Regions from separate parts of the Homo sapiens genome. Here all the other regions are linked to region 2. The links are contacts of gene promoters, found by promoter capture Hi-C in blood cells and fetal thymus (Javierre and others, 2016). All regions are on one chromosome and are shown on one strand. Each heading gives the region's core, a stretch centred on a gene start or on the middle of the fragment in contact. The rest is flanking DNA. Distances are from core to core; before and after follow the strand shown.

Region 1 (2,700 bases), core at 34-2,533, 330 kb before region 2:
ACACTGGGGAAGGGGCCCTGGCTGTGCCAAACCCCAAGCTGAGATCTGAGGGGAGGGGAGGAGATCCACAGAACTTCAGTCCTCAGGTGTCCACGGTCCCAGAGACACCCCAAAGGGGTGGGCTCAGATAGCATGGGAGTCGGGGGAGGACTGGAGAAGAGCAATCCGGGGCTCTGTCTAGGGTCCTAGAGACAGTGTCAGACAATAAGCAAAATGGGGGCGGGAGGCACAAGCTGAGCCCAGGAAGGACTCCCCAAGGCAGGAGGCTTAGAAAGTAGCAGAGGTGCCCTCTTGATCCTCAGGTTGGGGAGAGAAAAGACCAGAGGCTGGACATCCTTGCCCTTACAGCTCCTGGCCCAGGGCCTTGTGTATAGTAGATGCTCAATAAATATGAGTTGTGTTGACCTGGGTCTTGACAAAGAGATGTTGCTTAAGCTCTGCTATACTGAGGAAAGGGGGCGCCAGCCTCTGTTGGGCCTCCTGCCTGATGTCACCTGAACTTGGCCCTCTGGTTAATCTCAGACCTCCCCAGGGCAGGCTCACTCACGGAAGAGGAGGTGCCGCTCCTGTTTTTCCAACACCAGAGAACAACAACCCCCTCCAACCTTCTGTAGCTCCGCCCTGTCGGCAAAACAACGAAACTAGGGGTAGCTGAAATCGGCGCGGGTGGGGGGCAGGGGGTTGGCGAGCAAACCGAGACCCTTCCCGCCAAGGCCCCCACCTCCAAGCACCTCCTGTTTACAGAATGAAGTTCCCTGCTCCCCTCCCTGCAGGGCCCCTCAGAAGTGTGAACTACTGTTTCGGCCTCAGCCTCTTCTGGGGAGACCAATTAGAGGGTCGGCGACGCTCTGGAGAAGGGTGGCGTGAGGGTCCCGGAATGCCGCCCTCGGCCGGACCACGCCGATAACCCGAGCCTGACCGCCCCTCTCCCAGGTGGTCCTGGCAAACCGGGGGCAGCACCCACAACCCCGCGCCGCCTGAGACCGTGCCCATACCCTCCGAGGCTGCGCGCACTGGGTTCCGGCTCCCAGGTGCCGAGCCCGCCGGTGCTCTCGCGCCACTTACCTGCCTGAGAGTTGCCCACCTCGGAGCCCCGGGCCAGGCTGAAAAGCAAGCCCAGCACCTGCAGAGCGTCGTTCGCCCTCATGACTCCGCAGAGGGTGAAGGGAGCCCAGCCAAGTCCGGCCCGGGGGCCCCTAGGCTAGGACATCGAGGCAAGAGCCACCTGAACCGCTGGCGAATTGGTGGCTGCTGCGGCGACGGCAGCGGAGGTTGCAAATTGCAATCGGAGCCGGAGCCGGAGTCCGGGGAGGGATGGCAGGGGAGGGGTGTGTGTGTGTGAGAGAGAGAGAGAGAGGGAGGGAGGAACGCAGAGGGAAGGGGGTGAGTCACGGCCGCGCCCCCTCCCGCGCGAGGCTGGAGTAGGGATTGCGGAGCCTCGGACCGCCTGCCCCGAGCGTGCCACGCCCCGCGGTCCCGCAACTTGGCGGAGCAGATCGAGGATGGGGCTCACCCTAATTTTTCTGCAGGAGATAGGCCAAGGGGAGGTCGAGATTCCGAAAGCCCCCAGATCCAGGGAAGGGTAATGAATGAGGGAGTGGAAAGCTCTCCAAAGCCCTGCCCCCTGAAAGTTGGCCTCGCCCATTAACCAAATCACTCAACTCCCCTAGCCGGTTGGTTCACTTGGTGGATTTTCTCTCAGAATGTGAATATTTCTCTCTGTGTGTTTTTGAGGGGGAGGGTGTTTTTTGCCTCACGTCCAGGCCACCTCAGTTTCTCCCAGACTCGAAACCCCATAATTCATCCACCCAGCCCAGGAACCCGAGCCACAGAGACCGCGTGAAATTGCACTGTCTCTGGCCGCTTCCTCCTCCAGACCCGGCGCCGGCCGGGCCTCTCCCGGGGATTTGGATGGGGGGCGGGGGTGGTTTCCAGCCTGGGAACAGACCCCGGAGCCCGCCTTTCCACTTCTACCCCGGGAGGGGCTCCCGCACCTGTCGCCGTCCCCTCTGCTGCCCCCCACGGCCGCCTGGGAGAACAGCTGCCTCCCCTTCCACACTGGAGTCTGGCCGCACCGTCCGGGCGGCCGCAGTTCCCGCCGCTCTTCTGGGGACCCAGATGGGCACACACCAAGGCGCTTACACCCTCCCAGGTGCCTTCCAAGTCCAGGCTCTCGCAGGAAAGGGGATGGGGCAGTGAAGTGGGACGCGGAGAGGACACTAGAGACTGCGTCCACGAATGGCGTGGACCTCTGGAACCTCCCCCACCAGCTGCCCGGACCTGGCCAGAGGCGGTCGGGCTCCCTGCGGGTTGCTGCCCAAAGCCCTGCTAGTCCCGGGACGGATCCGACCGGCGCCGCCTGGTGCCCATCCGTGGCAGTGGAGTCCCAGACGGCCTTGCATTTCAAATCCCTTAAACTGGTATTCGGGATCTCGCCCGGAGAGCCTAGTTGTTTTCTCCAGAACTTCAAGCCTGAAGACTTCGAAAACAGTTGAGCCTTGATAAAGAAAAATTTCACCCCTCACACCTAGCAAAGACTACCGGCTAACATTCCTTAAACATGCTCCCTATTGATATGCAACCTAGAGGGCCTGTTCTCTACTGGAGAATCTCCGCTTTGGGGAGGTTGGCTTTCTCCAGACCATGTGTATAGTAGTCATAATAATAATAGCAACAACAAAACCATTAACATATACAAAC
Region 2 (2,700 bases), core at 146-2,645:
TGAGGCTTGTAATTGTTTACCTGAGATCTTAGTACCCTTCCTTCCTCTCCCCGTTTCCCTACTATAGTTGATCCAGCATCCAGATGTGGTTAACTGATTCCAATTCCTGAAGCTGTGACATTCTCTGCATACCTGGAAGCTCTTAATGAGGGAGTCTATAAAAGCTGTGGGGAGAACTAGCTTCCTCAGCTGTAAATCTGTACTTTTTTATGGTTCTCTAGGATTATTCTTTTTTTCCACTCTCACTCTAAACTGCCCAGCCCCCCACCCCACCTCTTAAGAACTGCTGAAGATAGAGGCTAGAAGCTTCTGTGAGGATGAGGGCTATAGGAAGGAAGGTGTGAATAAGGGCAGGACTTCTTGGTGTTGAGCTGAGTTCTCTTGCTGTGTCTGATATGAGGAGTGAGGGAGGAACTTAAGGGAGGATAACTTTTTTGCTGTTCTCTTATATGAGGGCCTCTGGCAATGCCACTTATTTCTGATTATTGGAATCCCCCCAAAATTTAACCTCCCCTTCTCTTGCCATATCTAGACTTTTCTTGTTTTTCCCTTCCAAAGGGATTTAAAATTACAGGTTTCACATCTTTCCAGATTCTTTGAGTCCAAGGTGTCCCTAACTTTCTTGTTATCTCTTTCCCTTATGTTATTCCTGTATTTAGGTTTCTACCTCCCGGATCACTTTCAATAGGATAGATTAGAATGTAATATTGTTTAGCAACTACTTAGGTTTAATTTCTTATTCTACCACACTAGCTCTGAGACCCTGCGCAGATAATCATTCTCTTTTCAGACTGTACCAAAAGGAACCCCATTGTGAAGGTTGCTGTGTGAATTAAGTGATATTCTCATATCATGTATTCACACTACAATTTGCTTACCATAATTTGCATAGTAATTATTCAATAAATATTAGCTTTTACTGGGTGATCAGGGTACTGTGGAAATACATATTTCTTTCCCTGAGTAGGTTCTAGCTAGGTATGAGTGCCCTAGTTTGAACATGTTTGTGTGTGCATACACCCAGTTAATGCAGTCGTATTTTGAGAAAAAGAAAAGGCAGAAAGAGTCCCATTCACTCCCTCAAGCCCAGCTCACTGGCAGGAAAGCTGGACATTGTTGCTTTGGAGCATTGATTTTCCTGCTTCTACGCCACTACAGACCAGAAGCTGTAGATGCCACTGCCTGCTGATTCTTAGCTTGGGGCCCCTGCCATTTAAAATATAGGCAAGGTCAGAGTATAGGATAGCTTCCCATGCCTTCGGTTGGAGGATGTTTTAGGATAAAGAAAAGACTTGTAAAAAGTCATCTTGAGTAGTCTTTTTTTGGGTGTTCTCTCAATATAGGAAACAAATGAGCCACAGGGAGAGAAAACCCATTTTCAGCTCAGGCCAAAGTTAGGGGTAGATGTGGATATGGTTCCCTTGGGAAGATAGAATACATAACACTTCTGCTACTCAACCACTTCCAGCCTTAGTCTTGTAGTTGGTCTCGAGTGGGGTCAGTGTGCTGATAGAACTGATAAGACAGGGAAAACATGGCAGTACATTGAACCCGCAGTAGCGCTGTCCCCAATTCTGGATCAGGTTGATGTCACAGGAGCTTTCCTTATTTTTATTTTACTTTAATTATTTTTAGAGACAGTGTCTTACTGTGTTGCTCAGCTTGGAGTACAGTGGCTATTTACAGGCCCAATTATAGCACACTGCAGCCTTGACCCTCTGGCCTCAAGTGGTCCTCCTGCCACAGCCTCCTGAATAGCTGGAACTACAGGAGCACACCACTGGGTCCTGCTTTCCTTTTTTTTTTTTTTTTTTTTTTTTTGGAGATGGGAGTCTCACTCTGTCACCATGCTAGAGTGCAGTGGTGCGATCTCAGCTCACTGCAACCTCCGCCACCTGGGTTCAAGCGATTCTTCTGCCTCAGCCTTCCATGTAGCTGGGATTACAGGCGCACGCCACCACGCCCGGCTAATTTTGGGTATTTTAGTAGAGATGAGGTTTCACAATGTTGGCCAGCATGGTCTCGAACTCCGGACCTTGCATGATCCGCCCGCCTCGGCCCCCCAAAGTGCTGGGATTACAGATGTAAGCCACTGCGCCCAGCCAGCTTTCCTTATTTTTGAAAAATGTGAGTCAGGCAATATTCTTTTGCCATTCCCAACTCATATTCCTGGGGAATTGTGCTCTAGGTACATGGGAAAAATTTTTACAGTGAACTGAAAGAATATTTGAGATGCTATTTTAGCCACTCTTGTGTAACAAGGCAAGTTCGTTGGCTATGTTGGTTTAGATTTTTGTCAAACTTCGTTGAGGAAACCTAGGAACAGGGACTGCAGGAGAATAGGACACTAGCTGGATCATCTCAAGAGAACCTTTAGATCTTCCATACTAGCTGGATCATCTCAAGAGAACCTTTAGATCTTCCATTCTGTGGAGGCTGGGAGAGGGGTCTTGTTGTCTTTGGGACTGTTTTGGCTCAAGCTTTTCAGAGAGGGGTTGTTCTAGGTACCCCCAGTTTCCTGTCCTCTTTCCATCCTTCCTTGGCCTGCATGTCCCAAACCTTATACCACCATGCCCTTAGTGTTTTCTGTCTTGCTCCAGGACCCCATCTTCTTAGTCATTGAACACGAGGTTTCCTGTCTCAGATCCTCTTCACCTCCGGTTCTCCAAGGTGTAAATGTGGCACTTGATTAGGGAGAAG
Region 3 (2,721 bases), core at 178-2,677, 500 kb before region 2:
TGATTTTTGTATTTTAGTAGAGACGGGGTTTCGCTGTGTTAGCCAGGATGGTCTCGATCTCCTGACCTCGTGATCCACCCGCCTCGGACTCCCAAAGTGCTGGGATTACAGGCGTGAGCCACCGCGCCCGGCCGGGAAGGCTTTTTTGAAATGTATTTTCGCCGGGTGCGGTGGCTCACGCCGGTAATCCCAGCTCTTTGGGATGCCGTGGCAGGTGGATCACCTGAGGTCAGGAGTTCGAGACCAGCCTGACCAACATGGTGAAACCCCCGTCTCTACTAAAATAAAAAATTAGCCGGGCAGGGTGGCGGGCGCCTGTAGTCTCAGCTACTTGGTAGTCTGAGACAGGATAATCACTGAACCCGGGAGGCGGAGGTTGCAGTGAGCCGAGATCGTGCCACTGCACTCCAGCCTGGGGGACGAGAGTGAAACTCCATCTCAAAAAATAAAATAAAATGTATTTTTATTTTTTAATTTTTTTCCTCTCCCCTCAAGGGAGGATTTTTATATATAAAGCCTTGACAGGACGCCAGCATGCTGCACTTCGTCCATTTCGTGTTCTCTTCAATGTGTATTGAGTTGTGAAACTCTGAACAGGACCCTGGATCACCTTTTATAAATTGTATCAATTTTTCAATCTCCACTTTTCGTCTTCCTCCTTTTTCCGTTTCTGGGTTGAGATGACCTCCATTCATTTCTTCTCTAATTGACGGCTCTCTGGCCTCTCCATTGGAGGAGGGGAAGCGCCACAGGCTGTTCTGGGGAGAAATTGTTGAGTGTTTTCCACTTTAACCTTGCAATGGAATCAGTAAGGAGTTGGAAAATGCCCCTTCTGTTGGTCTTGGCGGCCTTTTCCAGCTGCCAGTTGTCATGGCCTCTTTGTGGGTGTTTTCTGCAGTAGAATCCTCCTTGGGGTTTCTCTGCAGTTTGAGCACTTTTGCTATTTCTTCTCTACCGAACTCACGCCTCCGCCAGTGGAGATACACGCTTTCCCTCCCTCTGGGGCTATTGCCATACATAATTCCCAGTTCTCCACCCGCCAGTTCCTCCTAGTCTGTGGGGGATTTCGGGGTGTGGAATCGCTGACGGGAGGAGTTAGCTCGGGCGGGAGCATTGTGGGCTGGGTAAGATCTGGCCAGCCGTTCGGTCCTCAGTTTGGGAAGCACCGCGGGACTAAGGCCCAGGTTTCCGCTAGGGTCTTGTGGGGAACCCCTTGGGCCGCCAGACTGGAGCGGAGAGCACAGCGCGGCCAGCTGCGTGAGCCGGGGAGCCGGCGCGCGAGTTCGGGGGTGCAGGGGCTGCTGGGGCCGCCAGGGTGGGGCGGAGGGCGCTGCGGCCGGGGTCCGTTTGCGCGGGGAGCGCCGGGACCAGGACGGCCGCCAGGGAGCGCTGCGGCCTCCAACTCGCCCGCCCCCCGGTAGGCGGGGCCGCGCTCTCCCTGCAGCCGCCACCGCAGCCGCCGCCTGGGCCGCTCCGTGTCCCCGGTGGAGCCGCCGCCGCCGCCGCCGGGAGCTCGATGCGGACGGAGCCCGGGCCGAGCCATGGGGATCCTCAGCATCACGGACCAGGTCAGCCCTCCTGCCCTTTCCCGCTTCCTCCTTCCAGGGCTCGGCGCTGCCGTCACGCGAGCCCGGGGATGTGCGGCCTAGGCTGGGCCTGAGCCCGGGGCTCCCGCAGCTCCCGCCCCGCCCCATGCCGCGCTCCCCTCAACCGAGCCGGTGTCCTTGGGGACCTGGCAACCGGCGGAGGCACCGCGGGAGCTCGCTCCAGCCAGAATCCCTAGAGTGGAGCCCCTCCACGGACGCCCCCCACTCAAACCTAGGTGCTCCCCCACCCCCACCCCCACACCGGTTCCGCTCCGGCTCCAGCCCGCTCTCAGAATGCCGGTTCTCTCTGCAGCCGCCCCTGGTCCAGGCCATCTTTAGCCGAGATGTGGAGGAAGTGCGTTCCCTACTCTCGCAGAAGGAGAACATCAATGTGCTGGTGAGTTGGGAGCAGGGAGGATGGCGAGACCGGAATCCTGGCTCCCGTGTTCTGGACCCCTCCCCACCGGTGGGGCGGCTCCGTGTCTCCTCTGCTCAGATGAGGCCGCAGTTCTTTCCATCCTGGAGTGAAAGCCTACTCTGCATTTGGGGATGGAGAGCAGGTCAGGCTTGAAGCCCAGATCACTTGGGCTGGGAATGCCCAGGAACGTTGTTCTCTTCTCAACCTCCGGAGTCTGCAGCGCCCCCACCCCTCCTGGAAAAAGGAGCCGGCTTCTCAGCCCATTGGCCCTGACTCCACCCTCCCTAGGTGCTTGCCTTTGACTCCCAATACCGGGACTTAGGACGCTGCAGAAACTATGGGAAGAGGTTGTGGGGAAGGGCCTGGAGCTCTGAGACTTGGGCTGGGGTCCTTGATAGCCCCCTTACCCCGCGCCCATACTCCCTGCTCTTTTTTGCCTTCCCAGGACCAAGAGAGGCGAACTCCATTGCATGCTGCTGCCTACGTAGGCGATGTCCCCATCCTCCAGTTGCTACTGATGTCAGGTGAAAGTGGGGAGCTGGAAGGTGTGGCACATAGGGAGCGAAGGGAGGGGAGGAGTCTTTTTTGATATTCAAGGATTGCTCTCCCCGGCTTGGTCCAGGCGAGGCTCCAGCTCCATTCAGATTTCCTGGCCTGATTACTGGCTTCCTTCATACCTCCTCCCCACCTTCCATCAAAATAGGAAATTATATCCCC

The links. Contacts are between HindIII fragments. The CHiCAGO score rates a contact against its expected background, and 5 or more counts as called.
Region 1: the fragment with the promoter of ERBB3 here is called in contact with a fragment that was not itself captured in region 2 in 1 of 17 cell types (total CD8 T cells); the score reaches 5.9 in total CD8 T cells.
Region 3: the fragment with the promoter of ANKRD52 here is called in contact with a fragment that was not itself captured in region 2 in 1 of 17 cell types (activated CD4 T cells); the score reaches 5.5 in activated CD4 T cells.

Annotation. Positions count from the first base shown.
Region 1 is chr12:56,078,748-56,081,447 of GRCh38, reverse strand. ERBB3 (erb-b2 receptor tyrosine kinase 3) reads right to left here and starts at 1,283. Exons shown (of 28, transcript NM_001982.4): 1 at 1,066-1,283. The coding sequence starts at 1,147. RefSeq lists an enhancer at 636-1,626. The HindIII fragment of the contact is 9,077 bases long and covers 1-2,700 here.
Region 2 is chr12:55,752,892-55,755,591 of GRCh38, reverse strand. It overlaps GDF11 (growth differentiation factor 11), which reads right to left. Exons shown (of 3, transcript NM_005811.5): 3 at 1-2,700. It also overlaps a transcript of SARNP not described here. Among named protein-coding and RNA genes, the nearest start is that of GDF11, 11 kb to the right of the region's middle. The HindIII fragment of the contact is 2,174 bases long and covers 309-2,482 here.
Region 3 is chr12:56,257,090-56,259,810 of GRCh38, reverse strand. It overlaps ANKRD52 (ankyrin repeat domain 52), which reads left to right and starts at 1,427. Exons shown (of 28, transcript NM_173595.4): 1 at 1,427-1,568; 2 at 1,900-1,983; 3 at 2,450-2,528. The coding sequence starts at 1,542. RefSeq lists silencers at 1,169-1,228, 1,239-1,788, 1,809-1,878 and enhancers at 1,939-1,988, 2,069-2,118, 2,425-2,721. The HindIII fragment of the contact is 14,479 bases long and covers 1-2,721 here.